3 separate regions of the Homo sapiens genome follow, and all the other regions are linked to region 3. Evidence: promoter capture Hi-C in 16 types of primary human blood cells and fetal thymus (Javierre and others, 2016). All regions are on one chromosome and are shown on one strand. The core of a region is centred on a gene start or on the middle of the fragment in contact, and the rest is flanking DNA. Distances in the headings are between cores, read along the strand shown. Region 1 has its middle 55 kb from the start of LINC02727. Region 2 has its middle 39 kb from the start of LINC02727. Region 3 holds the start of GRAMD1B (GRAM domain containing 1B).

Region 1 (3,371 bases), core at 663-3,162, 170 kb after region 3:
GTTCTGCACCAGGGACCTGAATTAGCAGTGGTTTAAGAACTGAAAACGGCCTAATGTTTAGACCAAGCTAAGCAAGGTCGCCAGGGTGTTCAGAGGAATGACCTGAGTATTCTCCCAGCCCGATGCATGTAAATGAAGCTTGCCTTTCATTAGCTTCGTTCTGCTGCCCTGGGCTTTCAAAATTACAGGTTTTCTGAGGATCACAGTTTAATTACATAATCATACAAAATAATATTTAATGAAACACCAAGCAAACAAAAAGGACAGCAACATTTTCCAAGCTCTTACTGGCTACTGGAGGCAGCTTGGAGAGTGGGTCTTGGAACTGAACCTGGGTTTGAATCAGAGCTTTGTCTCTTCCTAATTCCTTATCTTTGGGCAAATTCTTTAACTCTCAGAGCCTTATTTTCTTTATTTATTAAAGTAGGGACTAAGTGTGGTGGTTCATGCCTGTAATCCCACTGTCAGAGGTATTTGAACCAGAGCGACTCCATCTTGAATAGGGGCTGGGTGAAACAAGGCTGAGACCTACTAGGCTGCATTCCCAGGAGGTTAGGCATTCTTAGTCACAGGATGAGATAGGAGGTTGGTACAAAACATAGGTCATAAAGACCTTGCTGATATTAAGAAAACAGGTTGCAGTAAAGAAGCCATCCAAAACCCACCAAAACCAAGATGGCCATGAGAGTGACCTCTGCTCATCCTCACTGCTCATTATATGCTAATTATCATTCACTAGCATGCTAAAAGTCACTCCCACCAATGCCATGACAGTTTACAGATGCCATGGCAACGTCAGGAAGTTACCCTATGGAGTCTAAAAAGAGGAGGAACACTCAGTTCCGGGAATTGCCCACCCCTTTCCCAGAAAACTTATGAATAATCCACCCCTTGTTTAGCATACAATCAAGAAGTAACAATAAGTCCAAGCAGCTCAACAAACCCAGCCGTTGCTCTGCCTGTGGAGTAGCCACTGTTTATTCCTTTACTTCCCTAATAAACTTGCTTTCACTTTATGGATTCGCCTGGAATTCCTTCTTGTGCAAAATCCAAGAACCCTCTCTTGGGGTCTGGATTGTGACCCCTTTGCAGTAACACCAGCACTTTGGGAAGCAAAGGTGGGCAGATTGCTTGATCCCAGGAGTTTGAGACCAGCCTGGCCAACATGGTGAAAAATACAAAAATTAGCCAGGCGTGGTGGTGCGCACCTGTGGTCCCAGCTACTCAGGAGGCTGAGGTGGGAGGATCACCTAACCCCAGGAGGTGGAGGCTGCAGTGAACTGGGATTTTGCCACTGTGCTATAGCCTGGGTGACAGAGTGAGACCCTGTCTCAAAAATAAAAAAATAAAAAGTAGGATAGTAGGGCATACTTCATGAAATTGTGAGGGCTCAGTGCACTGTGGTAGGCATTTAGATGCTACATACCCTTTCCTGCTCACCGCTGCAAGACCTCGCATCAGTAATTAAAGTGGATATACTCTCCTTTTGTAGCCTGCATGCCCAGGATTTTATTCCTTTATTCCTTTAAAATCATTCCTCATCAACCGCTCAATTTTGCTTTGCAAGTTTTGGGACATGGCTTCCTAGGGCAGAGGGATGTGTGGGATGGAGGGTTTTTGTTTAAAATGCAGATTAAAGCTGAATGCAGACTGCTGAGACCACCTCGGTCGGGGAGACCATAACCCAGCGGTGCTAGAGGAATTAAAGACACACACACAGAAATACAGAGGTGTGAAGTAGGAAATCAGGGGTCTCACAGCCTTCAGAGCTGAGAGCCCCGAACAGATATTTACCCACGTATTTATTAACAGCAAACCAGTCATTAGCATTGTTTCTATAGATATTAAATTAACTAAAAGTATCCCTTAAGGGAAATGAAGGGATGGGCCGAATTAATTGAGTAGGTTGGGCTAGTTAACTGCAGCAGGAACACGCCCTTAAGACACAGATCGTCAGGCTTTTGTTTGTGGCTTAAGAATGCCTTTAAGCGGTTTTCTGCCCTGGGTGGGCCAGGTGTTCCTTGCCCTCATTCCCCTAAACCCACAACCTTCCAGCTTGGGCGTTAGGGCCATTATAGACATGTTACAGTGCTGCAGAGATTTTATTCATGGCCAGTTTTGGGGCCAGTTTATGGCCAGATTTTGGGGGGCTTGCTCCCAACAGCAGACCTCTCCAATCAAGGTCTGCGCTAGCACCTCTCACGTGGCTTGCTTTCAGAAGCCCTGGGCTGTCCTGATGACAAGCTCTTTGCTAAGGTGGAAGAAGAACAGCACATTTTCTTCCAGCATCCTTCCTGCTTTAGGCTTCTTACCTTAGAAATGTGGAAATAGGGCTGTGGGTTTTGTCTGGTTTTGAGGTGGGCAAAACAGAAGGACAGGATGTGGTTTTGAACTATCTGACACCTCTCTCCAAGACTTCCAGAGGTCCGAATACATCACAATTTCTCACTTTCTCCTAAACTCATAGTCAGAAAGCCAGGTGGGAGCCAGGTGTTTGGGGTACATTTTTGGGCACAGGGGAAGTCACTTTGCTGGATTCTGCAGACACAGACTTGCCTGGCTCTGCGACTATTGTATGACAAAGAATTTGTCTAGTCTTTAACCCAGGTTTAGAGCTGAACTTCAAAAACCCCTGAACTTTCCCAAGTGATAGAAGTGGCTTTGTTATTCATGAGCTCCTTGAATCACACCTGAGTTTATGATGAGATTGCTCAGGCCAGGTGCTGTGGCTGGCATCTGTAATCCCAGCTGCTCCAGAGGCTGAGGTGGGAGGATTGCCTGAGGCCAGGAGTGTGAGATAACGAAATGGCTCAGGATGGAGGCTGGTTATCAGAAAGACCAACCATGAAATTAGAGGGTTGGGGCTTTGAGCCCAGAAAAGGGAGGGGGCTGGAGATTGAGTTATCAGTTATGTCTACAAAGTGAAACTCCAATAAAAACCCTAGACATTGAAGCTCATTGAGCTTCTTGGTTGGTGAACACACCAATATGCCAAGAGGGTGATGCACCCTGATCCACAGAGAAAGGACACAGAAGCTCTTCATTCGAGGCCCACCCGGACCTCTCCCTGTGCATCTCTTCATTTAGTTGGTCCTGATTTGTATACTTTAGAATAAAAGTATAATCATAAGAATAGCACTTTCCCGAGTTCTGTGAGTCATTCTAGCAAATTATCAAACCTGAAGGGCATTGTAGGGACCCCCAGATTTGAAGCCAATTGGTCAGAAATGTGAGTGCCTGGGGACCCCTTTTGCAGCTGACATCTAAGTGGGGACAATCTTGTTGAGAACGACACCTTCACCTTGTGGGGTCTACACTAACTTCAGGTGGTTAATGCCCACATGGAACTGCAGTACAAACATTGGTGTCAC
Region 2 (2,945 bases), core at 63-2,562, 150 kb after region 3:
TTTAAAAGAAGGAGGTGTGGACATGAATACCTATAGCACGCTGTGTATGCAAACAAAGCACATTTCAAAGTGCTTTTACAGATATTCACTCATTTAATCCTCATAACAACCCTATGGGGTGAGTACTCCTACCATCACCCCTGTTTTATAGATGAGGAAATTTTGACACAGAGGTTTTAGGTAAACCACCCAGTTAAATTCTGGTTTCACCACTCCATAAAGTGCAGAAACCAGGATGTAATCCCAGGCAGTCTATCTCCTACAATGGAAATGCTCTAAAACACCAGCCAGTACAGCCCTTAGACCCAGTCAAGGAGGGGTTCCCATTCTGTGCCCCATGCTCCAGGGGATCCCACACTCTGGCTTCCCATCTGGCTCCCATGGGGAGAGAAGTCTGTGGGCCAAGAAGCCATGACCAGCTGAATCCCATGCCAGGTACCCCTGCTCCCAGTATTCTCTATGCAAATAGCCCCAAACCTGCTTCTAGGGCCTCCACAGGCTCCTTTCTTAAGCCCATCCCCGGAGAGTGGCACTGCACCCCAGCTGTGCACTGCTGGAACCAAGAGGGGGTGCAGGGGTGACTGCAGGGAGTAGGAGGGAGCTCCAATGTGTGGCTACACTGCCCTCGCAGGCAAGTCAGAGCCAGAAGTGAAAAGGGAAGGGAGAAGGCTGCAGGCTGGGGCATAAGGAGCCAAAAGCCAGCTCTCCCCACAACCCATGTTGTTGTTTTTTTTTGAGACAGAGTCTCGCTGTCACCCAGGCTGGAGTGCAGTGGTGCAGTCTCAGCTCTCTGCAACTTCTGCCTCACCAGCTCAAGTGATTCTCGTGCCTCAGCCTCCCAAGTAGCTGTAATTACAGGTGTGTACCACCATGTCCAACTAATTTTTGTATTTCTAGTAGAGACAGGGTTTCACCATGTTGGCCAGGTTGGTCTTGAACTCCTGGCCTCAAGTGATCCACCTGCCGCAGACTCCCAAAGTGCTGGGATTAAAGGAGTGAGCCACCACGCCTGGCTGTGTGTGTTTTGACACACAACTCCAAGGGGTCCAATAATTCTCATTTTAAACTGGGCCTTCCAGGTCGTTATACAGATCTATGTGTTAAAGTAGAATAGGACATATTTAATGAGCAATTTGTTTTCCAATTCAGAACTTTAAATATTCAGAGGTAAGTGGGCTTTCAGATGTAGTCTTGCCTCAGGCCACGATGTTAGGGGTGGGCCTATTCCGTGTGAATCTGCTTCTCGTAGAGCTGACCCTCATGGAGTACTCCCTGGTCAGGCACTGCTATGAGCCCTGCTATGAGCACTTTACATATATTCTGACCTTGTCTTCATAACAGTGCAATAAGACAGAAATCTCCAGGTCCCACATGAAAGTTGTGATCAGAAGTTGTGTGAGAGTAGGATTTTTCTCGTGTCCCTTATCCTGCAAGAAGACTGGTCTATAAAAAAAGATAACTCTCTCTTGTGACTCTAAATATCCTTTAAAAATACCAAATAAACCCAAGAGTTTGAGACCAGCCTAGGCAACATAGGGGAGACCGCATCTCTACAAAAAAATTAAAAAATTAGGCCGGCATGGTGGCACACACCTGTGGTCCCAGCTACTCAGGAGGCTGAGATGGGAGGATCGCTTGAGCCTCAGAGGTCAAGGCTGCAGTGGGTTGTGATTGTGACACTGTACTCCAGCCCGGGCAACAGAGCGAGACCCTGTATCTAAAAAAAAAAAAAAAAAAAAAAAGCCAAATAAGGAGAATTGTAGTCATATCTAGATTTTTGGACAATCCCACTACATTATTTTCCTATCCTGCTCAAATGAAAACAGCCAGGACAACTATTAAGCCACCCTGATAGAAGGAACTGAGCCAGCCTGGATGCCACCTTTGAGAAGGAGGGCAGGAAGTCAGGTCTCCTCCCATGGATCTAAGGCGGGGGCCCTGCTGCCTGACACTACAGTGAAGCGCAGTGTGCCCTGTGTTTTCTATGGGACTATTCTTTACAAAACGATCTCATTTAATCTCGTATCATCTTGAGATCAGAAAGTTCAGAGACGCTTTGCTCATGCTACAGAAAAGAAAACGGACTCCAGGAGTACTCAAATGCATTGCCCAGGAAATTTGAATCTGTTGCTGATAAAACCAGGTCTGGCTTCCAGGTAATGCTCTTGTTCCCAAGTTATCACCCTCATCTAATAGAAAATCCTAGCCCATTGCCCACCTTAGGTGATAGATAATAATTTTGCCTTTGGGGAGGCCTTAATTTTTTCTAAATGCACTGAATTAAAATGCCTTTGTCCTTTTCCTCAGGTATGTATCAAAAAGGCAGGCCAGGCCCAGTGGCTCATTGCTGTAATCCCAGCACTTTGGGAGGCCAAGGAGGGAAGGTCATTTGAGCCTAGGGGTTTGAGACCAGCCTGGGCAACATAGCAAGATTCCAACTCTACTAAAATAAAAAATAAAAAATATTAGCTGGGTTTGGTGATGCACACTTGTAGTCCCAGCTACTTGGGAGGCCAAGGCGGGTAGATCGCTTGAGCCCAAGACTTCAAGACTGGCCTGGTCAACATAGTGAGATGCCCACCTGTACAAAAAAAGAAACGAAAATTAGCCTGGTGTCTTGTGCCTGTAATCCTAGCTACTCAGGAGGCTGAGGTGGGAAATTGCTTGAGCCCTAGGGGTCGAGGCTGCAGTGAGCTGTGATTGCACCACTGCACTCCTGCCTGGTCAACAGATCGAGACCCTATCTAAAAAGAAAAAGAAAAAAGAAAGAAAAGAAAAGGTAGTTGCCAGTGTCTAAAACAATTGCCACATCAATGCTGAAGGAGAGTGCACCAGGGGATTGGGAATCAAGATGAGGCAGCAGATCTAGTAGTTTCCTTCCACCAAGCTGAGTGAATAGGCTATCAAGAGGCACGGAGGATCAAACTACCACACAATTCTTAGCC
Region 3 (3,103 bases), core at 91-2,590:
TCTGGCCTTTTACTATCTCCTTCTGTAGAAAGGGAGCCATAGTAATACCTACCTCAGAGAGTTTGCGTAGGGATGAAATCTGGAGGTACATGAAGTGCGCAACATAGTGGCCCGCACATGGTAAGGGCTCAATAACTATTAGCTGTTATTATTTTTATTATTTATTTCGCTGCGAGGATCAAGGGAGATGGAATGCAGCGTAAAGCCCCACGTAAACGTGTCGTGCAACATGAAGCCCCTCACCCTGAGTTGGGGAGCGGGTGGCACGCGTGGAAGCTGAATGCCACCATCCCTGGGACCAGGCGCAGCGCCCTCCAGAAGCGCCTCTGGTGACGGGCTCCTGTTCTCCCCCAGGACGTTTCCCCCAGAATGCCCCGGGGCCCTGGACGGCTCTGGAGAGGACGGGAGGGAAGGGAAGGAGACGGGCGGAACGGGGACGTACCTGCTTTCACTGCACTCCTTCCGCTCCCTCACCCTCAGCCACTTGCGGAGGAGGAAGCGTTTTCGGCGCGGGGACGCGCTGGGTGTGGAGCAGTTGGACCACGGGGTGTCCTCGTCGCTGGAGGGCGTGATCTCGATGGACGGCAGCTGCAGGAACTCCTTGCCGGGGGCCAAGACGGCGGGCAGGTCCCGGGCCAGCCCGGCCTCCAGGCTCTGCTCCTGTACGTTCTTCATGCGGCGCATCTTGAAGCGCCGGCGGCGAAGCGTGGGGGTCGACGAACTGGACCAGACCGGGCTGCCCTCGGGCGCACCCTGCGGCTCGGGCACCTGCAGGGCGGGCAGCGGCCGGTTCTCCATCATGTTGGCCGCCGGCATGGGGGCCGTCGCCTCTGCGCTCCCCCTGAGCCCTCCGCCAGCGGCCTGGTTCGCGTCTCCCTCTGGCTGTTCCCCACCCTCGGCCCCGCGGCACACTCCCCAATCCTGGGGCCGAAGGAACAAGTTCCTTTCCCGGAGCGCAGCGAGGAAGGGACGCGAGGGGACGCGGCGTAGCGCGCCGCCGCCCGGAGTCTAACTTTTCGGAGCGCGCGTCCTCCGGGCCGTCAGCCGCCGGCGAGGCCACCCGGGAGGGGCGGGAGCCGCCTGCCAGCCACTCGGCAGCCCTCCTGGGGCTCCCCTCGCGCGCCCGCTTGTTTTTCTTCCGCTGCGCTTCCTCGCTTGCTGGCGTCTTTGCCTTAGCGGGACTCGGCAGCCAGGGGCCCCAGGGGGCGGTGCAGCAAACTCTCAGCGGTTTGCGTTCAGCAGACCAGGTTGGGGAGCCGGCTTGGCGCTGCAGGGAGGTAGAGAGCGGGAGGAAGAGGCAGTGGTAGGAGGGAAAGGGAGAGAGAGACAGAGAGAGAGAGAGAGAGAGGAAGCGAGACACTGGATAAAAACAAAAAAGGAGGAGGAGGAGCGGGGGCTGGGGGCGGGGTGAGGGGGGCTATCCTGAATGGGCTAGCACTGGCAGCGACCGCTAGTGTAACTGTACACGGATTCCCTCGGGGAGGGACTCGACCTCCAAGTAAAGGCTGCTCCAATCAGCCTACTGAAATAGGATCACAAACCAAACTTTCTCAGGGCAACGATTGGCCAGGCAACTCCCATTAGTCGAACTCGGCTATTTCCTTGGGGGTGGGGGGTGCAGAGAAAGGGGAGTCAATGAATTCAGTCCTCACTCTCTCAGGCCACCCATGATACAGGGTTGAAGGAAAATGAGGAGACTTTTCAACTAGCTCTTGTCTCCTAAGAAAGGCAGTTTAAATTATTTGGGGGCGTGAGTAGTGGCACTGCAGGCCGGAGTATAGTCAGAGGAGGAAAGCAAGGTTGCTGGAGGCTGCTTCCAAAATGACAAGCTGAGAAGAGGACAGTTCTCCCGTGGCGGCGTGAGCTGAGGATACCAGACATGACATACCAAGGAAAGACAGACAACAGGGTCTGAGAGACAAAGGACACAGGACCAGTAAGGAAAATGGGGCCTGAACCCTGTACATGAGCCAGCTGCCAGTACCATAGCCGCGTCCCTAGCAAAGAATGAAATGAGGAGTCGGTGAGCACCCACAAAGCAATGCATCCAACAGAGCCCCAGGGAGTCGAGGGTACCCCCCCTTACATTGCTGAGGGCTGATTCAGTTCTGCTTCAGCCTGCCATGGACTGAGTCACAGAATCCAGTATGTCCCCATGTCATGGAACCTAGGAAGTCTGGTTCAGTCCTGGTAGCATCCCAAGATGTGCTGAACCACACTCACTCTCTAGACCCAGGCCCTAAGAGATCATCAACCCTAGAACCGATCCATCCTATTTAGGTGCTCTCTGTGGGCACTGAGTCTAACCCAGCCCAGCTCCTAGAGCAGGGCTGTAGCAGCCATTCTCCTCCTTCAACCCCAGCCCAATGCATTTGTCTCTTGGGTCAGTAACTGTTTTGTTTTGTTTTGTTTTTAAGAGACAAAGTCTCACTCTGTTGCCCAGGCTGGAGTGCAGTGGTGCAGTCATGGCTCACCGCAACCTTGAATTCCTGGGCTCAAGCTGTCCTCCCAGCTGAGCCTCCTGAGTAGCTGGGAGTACAGGTGCGCACCACCACACGCAGCTAAGTTTTATTTCTTTTTGTCGATATGAGGTCTTGCTATATTGCCCAGGCTGGTCTCAAACTCCTGGCCTCAAGTGATCTGCCCACCTTGGCCTCCCAAAGTGCTGAGATTACAGGCATGAGCCACCATGCCCAGCCTGGTCAGTAACTTTCAAAGAGATCATGAGAAGCACCCAAGAACATACCATGAAGTCCACAATCTGATCCACCCTTCTTTTCTGCCTCTCTCAGAGTCCAGTTTCCATCTGGGAGCCAATGCCCAGCTTCCGTGCCAGGACAAAAGTCACATTTCACAAGTGTCCCGAAGCTGAGGAAAATTCACATCCCTAAAGATCACAAGAATTCACTGCAAGTAAATACATCCCTGCAGTTCAGCAAGACATCAAGGATGACAGCTGGCTATGGATCTACCAAGCTCTGCAATGACACTTGTCAAGTATGGAAAAGCTCAAGGCATCCTGACATTACACAACTTTTGAGAGGCTGGGAAACCAAGGGAAATATTTCTTCCTCAGGGAGAGAGATACTGCGGCTGAAGAGCC

The links. Contacts are between HindIII fragments. The CHiCAGO score rates a contact against its expected background, and 5 or more counts as called.
Region 1: a contact is called between a fragment that was not itself captured here and the fragment with the promoter of GRAMD1B in region 3, in 1 of 17 cell types (fetal thymus). The highest score is 7.7, in fetal thymus.
Region 2: a fragment that was not itself captured here is called in contact with the fragment with the promoter of GRAMD1B in region 3 in 1 of 17 cell types (fetal thymus); the score reaches 5.3 in fetal thymus.

The regions. Positions count from the first base shown.
Region 1 is chr11:123,258,127-123,261,497 of GRCh38, reverse strand. No RefSeq gene overlaps it. Among named protein-coding and RNA genes, the nearest start is that of LINC02727, 55 kb to the left of the region's middle. The HindIII fragment of the contact is 3,544 bases long and covers 141-3,371 here.
Region 2 is chr11:123,274,211-123,277,155 of GRCh38, reverse strand. No RefSeq gene overlaps it. Among named protein-coding and RNA genes, the nearest start is that of LINC02727, 39 kb to the left of the region's middle. The HindIII fragment of the contact is 6,858 bases long and covers 1-2,945 here.
Region 3 is chr11:123,428,506-123,431,608 of GRCh38, reverse strand. GRAMD1B (GRAM domain containing 1B) reads right to left here and starts at 1,340. Exons shown (of 20, transcript NM_001387025.1): 1 at 443-1,340. The coding sequence starts at 816. It overlaps LOC124902776 (a long non-coding RNA gene), which reads left to right and starts at 395. Exons shown (of 2, transcript XR_007062928.1): 1 at 395-662; 2 at 2,793-3,103. RefSeq lists silencers at 713-762, 873-1,202. The HindIII fragment of the contact is 5,032 bases long and covers 1-3,103 here.